Linked DNA regions of Homo sapiens: regions 1 and 3 are each linked to region 2. Evidence: promoter capture Hi-C in 16 types of primary human blood cells and fetal thymus (Javierre and others, 2016). All regions are on one chromosome and are shown on one strand. The core of a region is centred on a gene start or on the middle of the fragment in contact, and the rest is flanking DNA. Distances in the headings are between cores, read along the strand shown.

The links. Contacts are between HindIII fragments. The CHiCAGO score rates a contact against its expected background, and 5 or more counts as called.
Region 1: a contact is called between a fragment that was not itself captured here and the fragment with the promoter of CCNE1 in region 2, in 1 of 17 cell types (total CD8 T cells). The highest score is 6.0, in total CD8 T cells.
Region 3: a contact is called between a fragment that was not itself captured here and the fragment with the promoter of CCNE1 in region 2, in 1 of 17 cell types (endothelial precursors). The highest score is 6.2, in endothelial precursors.

The regions. Positions count from the first base shown.
Region 1 is chr19:29,219,478-29,222,436 of GRCh38, forward strand. No RefSeq gene overlaps it. Among named protein-coding and RNA genes, the nearest start is that of UQCRFS1-DT, 7.7 kb to the left of the region's middle. The HindIII fragment of the contact is 2,711 bases long and covers 1-2,621 here.
Region 2 is chr19:29,810,469-29,813,389 of GRCh38, forward strand. CCNE1 (cyclin E1) reads left to right here and starts at 1,523. Exons shown (of 12, transcript NM_001238.4): 1 at 1,523-1,684; 2 at 2,064-2,110; 3 at 2,221-2,308; 4 at 2,501-2,569. The coding sequence starts at 2,088. RefSeq lists a silencer at 977-1,606. The HindIII fragment of the contact is 7,130 bases long and covers 1-2,760 here.
Region 3 is chr19:30,644,898-30,648,044 of GRCh38, forward strand. It overlaps a transcript of ZNF536 not described here. Among named protein-coding and RNA genes, the nearest start is that of ZNF536-AS1, 24 kb to the right of the region's middle. The HindIII fragment of the contact is 717 bases long and covers 1,446-2,162 here.

The DNA of each region.
Region 1 (2,959 bases), core at 16-2,515, 590 kb before region 2:
TCTCTGGGGAGGAGCTGGCTCCCTGAATCTCCAAGACAAACCCAGACAGCCCTGGGGACCTTGAATGTGAGCAAGGGGAGCAGAAAGGAGGCTCCAGCCCACCCAGGGCCCCTGCAGGGTCTGCACACACAATTACAGGTCCTCATTTCCCTCTCCTAATGATGCCCCAAAACATTAAGGGAAGTTAAATCAAACCACCAGGTGTCCAGCATGAACAGCTGAAATAATAAATTCACGAGGTAAGTAAGACATTTTATTTGTACTATTTCAAAATTGGTAGATGCAGGAAAGCAAATTGTGATGTGCTTGGGATTTAATTTGTATTTCAAGGTACTAATGAAGGTAGCACCCATTTTCCCAAAGGCCTTTTCATCCCTGAATCTTGAGAGCACTTTTCTAAGCATATTGGGAATAAATTAAGTTGCAAAACCTCCATGAAAAAGATTACGGTTAAAACATAATTTTGAGGAACCACTTGAGTTTATCCATTTACCTGCTTTTAAGTACACACACCTATTTTTTTTGCAATTATTTTTCACAAAAGAAGGAACTTTGTGTGACGTATACAAGCAGGTAATGGCAAACCTCCAGCATCTTTAAAATAAAACTCAAATTGGGCTGGGCAGGATATTACATGCCTGTAATCCCAGAACTTTGGGAGGCCAAGGCTGGTGGATCACCTGAGGGAGCTCGAGACTAGCCTGAGCAACATGGTGAAACCTTGTCTCTACTAAAAACAAAAAAAATTAGCCAGACATGGTGGCGGGTGCCTGTAATCCCAGCTACTTGGGAGGCTGAGGCAGGAGAATCACTTGAACCCAGGAGGTGGAGGTAACAGTGAGCCAAGATCATGCCATTGCACTTCAGCCTGGGCAACAAGAGCCAAACTCTGTCTCAAAAAAATAAAATAAAATAAAAATAAAACTCAGGCTGAACTAAACCAGCCTTCTGAGTCAATGTGCAGATATTCCATAATGAAGTATGCTGATTAATAAATTATTTGATTACCAGGTAAGTATACCTGCAATCAATATAACTGCCGAAAAGCTCTGAATTAGAAATGGTGCAATAAAATTTAACTGAAAGGTATTAGGAATTGGTAGTTTTAATTACAGGGAATGATTAATTGATCATTTAGACAGTATTGATCTACAACTTATTTAATTCTTTGCAATTTAATTTGTCAGATTTGAATCCAAATAACTGATGATTTGTTCCATGAATGCCAGAGCTGGAAGGGATGGGGTTGGCAGAAGAGACAAGACTGGACCATGGACCTGGTGGTTCTGTGCAGAGGCCAAAGCTACTCTCCTTCCCACCTGGCCCTGTGCTGGGCCTAACCTGGAGCCCCCTCTATCCTCTGCCTCATTCTTCTCCGGGTCAAGGTCCAGCATGAACTCCATGTCCTCCAGGAAGCCCTGGTGGACTTGGGCAGACCTGGGGACACGTCCAGCCTCCTGGCAAGATGGGGGTAACAGGAGTGTGTATAAAGGGGAAGGCAAGAATGTGCCCTTGGTGGAGCAGTGAAAAGAAGCCCTCATGTGACAAGTGTTTTGCTCCTAACCCACCTCCTCTGGTGACATCTTCTGGGTTAACTGCTCTTGCTGATCTCTGCACATAAACCAAGCTAACTGTGAGAGGCCTTTCATTTCTAGTTTAAAGCAAGGAGACCACAGTTCCTTCTGAACACTCACCCCCAAGGAGATAAGGAGGGCGTCCCATGAGCAACACTGTGTGTTAAAGATGTACACGAGCACTGGGACCTGACCAAGGACAAACACGTCTCCAGCCCCCTCAGACCCTTGCTGCTGCTCAGATGTCCGCTGTCATCGGTCACATCCTAACCTCAACCCCCTCTCTCCTCCCACATAAAAGGAGGCTGAAATTCATAGTAACTTCAGATGGTTCTTTAGGACACTGGCCCACCACCTTCTCGGTTGCTGGCTCTCCAAAACAAAGCCCCCTCCCTTGACCCAATTCCTTGTTTCTTGACGTACTGGCTGTTGTGCAGTGCATGGTACCGGCTTGAACTCGGTTATGTTGGCATGGCCTCTGGCGGTGCTCAGTTTGTGTGGATGAGTATTTTACAGCTACTGTCCTATTTCCAGTCCCCTTCCTCTGGACGGCTATGGGATGTGCTGTGGATGCCCTCTCTTAGGCTGGAATAAACCACCCTACCTTCTCCTCTGCCTTGTCTCCACCAAATAAACTCCTTAAGGCAGGGATAGAGTCTTGCACTCCACGAAGAAGTATTGCTGCATCCTCAGCTGTGTAAGAGTGACCGGGCTTCTTCTATTCCACCTGTAATGGAACTTTAGGCACGCAGAGAGAGATGGCAAATTTGTGCTGGCTGAAGGGGTCAGCAAATGCATATAAGGCTTCTTGTGCTCCAGAGAGAGAATGGAGTGCAGTCAGTGAGACCCTGAGGGGAGAAGGAACCAAAAGCCTGGGCAGAAGGGATCGTGGAGGTGCCCAGGGTCAGGAGGGATGGGAAGGGTGAGGAACACAAGAGATCACCTGGAGGCATTAGAGGAGAAGGCAGGCACTGGGGATGGTGCCGCTGATCCAGGTGGAGCAACATCCTAGGACCCGAGTGCTGGGCAGGTGCATCCGTGGAGGGAAGCTTCTCTCCTCTCTCGGCTCCTGCTGAGAGAGGCAATCATTCCCCTGGCTTGCCCTGCAAGAGACAGGAGCTCTAGGTAGATCTCTGCTATCTAGGGAATAGAATGTGAATATTTGAAAGTTCTAGAGGTCAAGTCTTAGGTTCCCTCTCAGCTCAGATCCCAAATGGTACACTCTACCCTAACCCCCTTTTCTTGTAGCTTTGCTACATGGAGAGGAAAATACCTTGCCAGACACCAACAGTCCCTTCTCAGCACTTTTGTGTGAAGACAACTCAGACCCTAAGAGAATGGGGTCTAATTTGCAGGTGCCACTGGAAGGCAGAGGTCACGGGAGC
Region 2 (2,921 bases), core at 273-2,772:
TTACGCACATCTTCCTGAAGCTGAGTACAGAGGGTACTCTGAGGTGATGACTGTTCCTTACCTGTCTCTCTCATTAGCCGGTAAGCCCTGCAAGGGCTTGGCCAGTGCCTGTCTTTCAAATGTTCATTCAGAAACAATTTAAGTGTCTCCCTTGGTCCAGGCACTATGCCAAGAACTGACAGATACAGCAGTGAGCAAGATGGGCAAGGTGGGGAGAGAGACAAGAAACAGAGAGGCACCAAGACTGTGTAGGGGCTGGGCTCCCAGCACTTTGGGAGGCCAAGGCGGGAGGATCGCTTGAGCTCATGGGTTTGAGACCAGCCTGAGCAACATAGCAAGACCCTATCCCTACCTGCCACCCCCCACCCCCCGCCACAATAAAAAATACAAGTCTTGAGGGAGAAAGGACAGAGGAGCTGTGGAGAGGAGGCCTGAGGTCTGAGGGTGGGGGATCAGGGTCAGGTCCTGTGGAGCCTGTAGCCTAGGACACGGAGTGTGGATTTGACCCTTATGCGAAACAACTGGAAGGCTTTTTGTTTCTTTTTCTGTAGAAATGGGGGTCTCACTGTTACCCAGGCTGGTCTCGAACACCCCAAGGGATCAGCCGTCTCGGCCTCCCACAATGCTGGGATTAAAGGCGTGAGCCACCGCGCCCGGCCTCAACTGGAAGGCTTTAAGTGAGAGATGGGGTGCAAGGGAATCCCAGAGTCAGAAAGGTCTTCAGAGAGCCAGGAAGGGCTTGCGGGGGAGGGGCGCATATGGAAGGGGCGCATGGAAGGAACTCACAGATTCCTTGAATGAATGAATGAACGACCCAATGCACTGACGGATGAATGGACAGGCGGCCAGGAATAGCAGCCGGCCCCCAGGGAGCCCCAGACCCCGCGGCCTGAAGCCTTGGTTCTAGGCCAAGGCACAGGCGCGGTGACCTTGGGGATGTCCCCGCCCAGGACTCAGGGCCCGGAACTCGGCGTCTCGGGGGCGGGGAGGGCGTGCCTGGCGGGACAGCGCGCGCGGAGGAACGGCGGGCGGTGCTCCTCGGGTAGGCCCCCCACACATCCCCTTGGCTCAGCCCTGCCGGGGCCCGAACCCGCGCCGCCCGCCGTGTTTACATTCCACCCGCGCCAGCCACGCGGCTTTTTGCCGCTCCAGCGCCGCTCGGCCCCGCCCCCGGCGCCCGCGGCCCGCCCCTCGCCGCCGCGCGCCAGACTTCTCCCGCGTCCCGCCCGCCGCCCCGCCCCGCGTCCCGCGCCCCGCGCCCCGCGCCCGGCCCTCGGCGCGCAGGCCCTGTCACTTGGCCCCGCCCTGTCCGCCGGCCCCGCCCCTGATTCCCCGTCCCTGCGCCTCGCGGGCCGGCGCCGTGGAGGGGCGGGTCCGGGGGCGGGGCGAGGGACGGGGCGGGACGGGCTCTGGGTCCCGCGCGGCCGCTGAGGGGCTGGGAGCCGCGGCGGGGCGGTGCGAGGGCGGGCCGGGGCCGGTTCCGCGCGCAGGGATTTTAAATGTCCCGCTCTGAGCCGGGCGCAGGAGCAGCCGGCGCGGCCGCCAGCGCGGTGTAGGGGGCAGGCGCGGATCCCGCCACCGCCGCGCGCTCGGCCCGCCGACTCCCGGCGCCGCCGCCGCCACTGCCGTCGCCGCCGCCGCCTGCCGGGACTGGAGCGCGCCGTCCGCCGCGGACAAGACCCTGGTGAGTCTACTGCCGCGGGCTGCGGACAGGGACTCCTGGGGCCCAGACCGCGCCGGGGAGCTGGGTGGGGGCGGGGTGCGGCCGGGTCGCGGGTCCCCGGGCGGCGTCGCGGGGCGCCCGGGAGGGTGCTGAGAGCGCGGCGGGGTGGGGTGGAGGGGACACTGAGGCAGCCCGGGCCCCGGGAGGCGACGGGCCGGTGAGGGCGGCGGGGGCGGCGGGACCCCGGGTCGGGGGTCGGCGGGTGCCCGGGTCGCGGGTGACAGGCCACCCCGCCATCGGCCATCTTCCTGGCTCGCCCGGCCGCCCGCGCGCAAAGGGGGAAGGGGTACTGGGCCCGCGGCCTGACCCCGCCGCCGCCTCACCCCGCGCCGCCCCGCAGGCCTCAGGCCGGAGCAGCCCCATCATGCCGAGGGAGCGCAGGGAGCGGTGAGTGCCCGCGCCGCGGGGCCGGACGGGACGGGACGGGACGGGACGGGTGGCGTGGGGGAGGGGCGGCCGCGGGTGCTCACCCGGCCCGGTGCCACCCGGGTCCACAGGGATGCGAAGGAGCGGGACACCATGAAGGAGGACGGCGGCGCGGAGTTCTCGGCTCGCTCCAGGAAGAGGAAGGCAAACGTGACCGTTGTGAGTACAAAAGAGACAGGTTGGGGAGCATCCCCCCCATCTCACCTGGGTACCCGACTTGGCTCTGCCTACGGGGGCGGGGGTCCCTTGGGCAGGAACGGAGCTCATAACCTGATCAGCTTTCTCTTCTTCTCTCTGTTTTTGTCTTGTTTGGTGTGTTTCCTTGGGGTCATGGGGGTGGCTTCATGTTAGTTTTTGCAGGATCCAGATGAAGAAATGGCCAAAATCGACAGGACGGCGAGGGACCAGTGTGGGAGCCAGGTAGGTCCGCCCGGGGTTGGGCCTCTGTGGAGGTCCTTCTCCCCCTGGGTCACATGGGGTTTCATGCTGTCTTGTCTCTTGCTGGAGACACTCTGGTGAGAGTGAACTTCTCTAATGCAGCCACAGCCCATATGGCCCAGCACTGTACCTGTCAGTGGGCACTGGCCTCTGCCAGTCCTGGGATTCCAGGAAGCTTGGTGTTCCTGACTGGCACCGTCTGAGATTACAGATATGTGCCTAGCCTGGAAGAACCAGAATGGACATCACAGTATTCAGTCCTCCCCTTCTGCCCAGGAGGAAACTGAGACTCAGTTAGAGGAAGAAAGTAACCCAGAGTCCTGTGCCATCCAGG
Region 3 (3,147 bases), core at 554-3,053, 830 kb after region 2:
GGGTCAAATGGTATTTCTAGTTCTAGATCCCTGAGGAATCGCCACACTGACTTCCACAATGGTTGAACTAGCTTACAGTCCCACCAACAGTGTAAAAGTGTTCCTATTTCTCCATATCTTCTCCAGCACCTGTTGTTTCCTGACTTTTTAATGATGGTCGTTCTAACTGGTGTGAGATGGTATCTCATTGTGGTTTTGATTTGCATTTCTCTGATGGCCAGTGATGTTGAGCATTTTTTCATGTGTCTTTTGCCTGCATAAATGTCTTCTTTTGAGAAATGTCTGTTCATATCCTTTGCCCACTTTTTGATGGGGTTGTTTGTTTTTTTCTTGTAAATTTGTTGGAGTTCATTGTAGATTCTGGATATTAGCCCTTTGTCAGGTGAGTAGATTGCAAAAATTTTCTCCCATTCTGTAGGTTGCCTGTTCACTCTGATGGTAGTTTCTTTTGCTGTGCAGAAGCTCTTTAGTCTAATTAGATCCCATTTGTCAATTTTGGCTTTTGCTGCCATTGCTTTTGGTGGCATTTCTTTAAAAAAATTTTTTTGGGGGGAATCAATGCCTTGGTGCCTTAGCATCAGAGGATATGACTATTATAGGACACTCCTGTTATTATTAATGAGGAGGACATGTATCCTTCATTTTGCAACTTTTCATCCTCAGTGACCTTTTAAATATGGAAACTGTTGAAGTCACATTTTAATATTAATGAATGATGTAAAAGGTAAATGAAGTTCAAATTATTCTAATACTTGCATGTTAGGATCTGTGTCTATATCCATATCTTCTCCACAGGCTTGTCATAACTTTATAAGTGTCAAAGGGATTTGAGTGTGAAGCCCCACAGATGAGGGCCGTCTGCTAGTGGCTGCAGCCCACTTAGCGGATGGCGCCACCCTGCAGCAGGGAGCTTCCCATCTAGACACATATGTTCTGATGCTTTTGGTCATTATTCTGACCTAGACATTCACCAAGAATGAAGAAACTATTCGTTTGGCGAACAACACGTCTGCATTTTGGGAAAGTTCGCCATGCCGTTGCCCAGCCTGGCTTCTTGCTGGATAAGCTTTGGGTTGGAGCCCTGAGGACAGCAGGTCTCAGATCTAGTCACCGTCTTCTCCAGCCTCCTGCTACTGCATTCTGTAGCTCTGTCTCCAAGTGCAAGAGTTTGGCCCCTTTGGGGATTTCTGCCATTATTTTTTCAGAGAAGGTATTCAGCTCTGGTTTGGCTTGTAGCAACAAAGGTCTTTTTGTGTCTCACGATTCCTCTCCCCTCTGCCTCTTCTTTCATCCCTGTGGCATCTATTATTACCGTAATGTGACTAAGGGGGCCTTTCCCCCTGTCATGTGCCTCCCCAACTGTCCTGGTGGAAAATAGTATGTTCTTTTTTCCTTTACATCCATCATTTCCACCTAAGCACAGTATAGCAGCCTCTGGGGAAAGAAGCTTGAGCCTGCGCACACATGTTCACGACTGTGTGTACACGTGTCTAGGAGCACGAATGTGCACAATGTGTGTTTAGGCAGGAGTGCATCTTTGCAAGGTGTGAAGGTGTGCTCATGAATGTCCCTATGTAATGTGTGAATGTGTGCATGTGCGGGTGTGTGCGTGCTTCTGCATGAAGCCATCGGTGTGTACGTGTGGATGTGTGACTTTGCCGGTCAGTGGGCACAGCTGTTGATCACGCACTGTCCAGACCACAGTGCTTTAGCTCCTTCTAGACATTTTCTCCACCTTTATTTGTGTTAATTACTCAAGTGGCAATTAGTGGCTCTGCCCCCCTTTTGGTCGCAGTCTCGTAGTATTTGAGGGATGGTCATGTATTCATCATATTTCAATAAATCCTTTCCAATGTTATTGCCCTTGTTGTATCAACTGGCACCTGCCCTCCGACGTTACACCTGCAGGAGAATTCCACCACGTTTGGGCGCATTTCCGAAGCAAGGCTATTGATGTTGTATGTTTAAAAAAATTAATTAAAAAAACTCAGATCTCGGGAAATTCCAGCAGTCAGTCTCCTTTTTTTATCCTAATCTCTTCATAGTAATGCTCACAAGTACCCTTGGTCCAGACAATTCTTCATTCATTCTCCACCCCCCACCACACTCACACCCAAACTCCCCACCGCTGGAGATTAGTCCTTTGTGAGTCAGTGCACAAAAGCTTTCTTAAAGTCCCAGTAAATTATACCCCTGGTTTCCCTCTTGAATTCCTTTTTGTTACTTTTTCAAAATATTCTATTAGTTTTGTTACGTATGATCTCCCTTTTGTGAATCCATGCTGAATATCTTTAATTAAATCATAACTTTCCCTATTTTGTCCCTGATTAGTGTTTCCAATATCTTCCCCACTGCTCAAGTCAAGCTTACTGGTGTTTAATTTCTTTGATCTCCCTTTGAGTCGTTATTAAATATAGGTGTTGCATAAGGGCTCTTGGCCACTGGTGCTTCTCCCGTTTCCCTGGGTGTTTTTAAAAGGTATTTGCTAACCGTTCCCCTGTTTCCTTGCCTCTTCTTGCACAAATTCTAAGATGGTTCCCATCTGCTCCCGGAGTTATCAGTCCTTAGACACTCTAATTTCTTTCTCACCTGTTCTGCTACTAGGCTGATTTCCTTCAGAAATATTTTCCTCTCCCTGGGAAATGCTTGTCTGTTGCTGGCATCTGCTTTCGTCTTCCCTTTATGGACATGAAAGCAAATAATTTATTTTTCATTTTCTCTAGAAGTTGTCATCCCTCCTTCCAATCAACTATGTTCTATGTATGCCTCCTTGTGTTTTTTAAAAGAGCATTATAAACCCAGTTCCAGCACCTCCTTGCTAAGACCCCAATTTGGAAGTGGTATTTCCTTTCCAAAGGGTTGATAGCATCACCAACTTTTAATCTGGGGCAGGGAGTGCTGACCCTTTGCTAGCGAAACTGTTTTGGATGCCCCCAGCTGTCCTACAGCAAGCAGCATGAAGTCTTGAGGCTTCCCTGACAACCGGTACAAGAGGGACCTGGCCCCATCTCCGGGTTTTAGGGAGTTGTGAAGTTTCCCACGTGTCGCTTTGGAAATCTCTCATATGAAGTCAGCTTCAGCCAGGAAGCTTGCCTTCACTTTTCTTCTGCTCAGTGCCTCCAATTTTCCTCACACCTGAGGGATGCA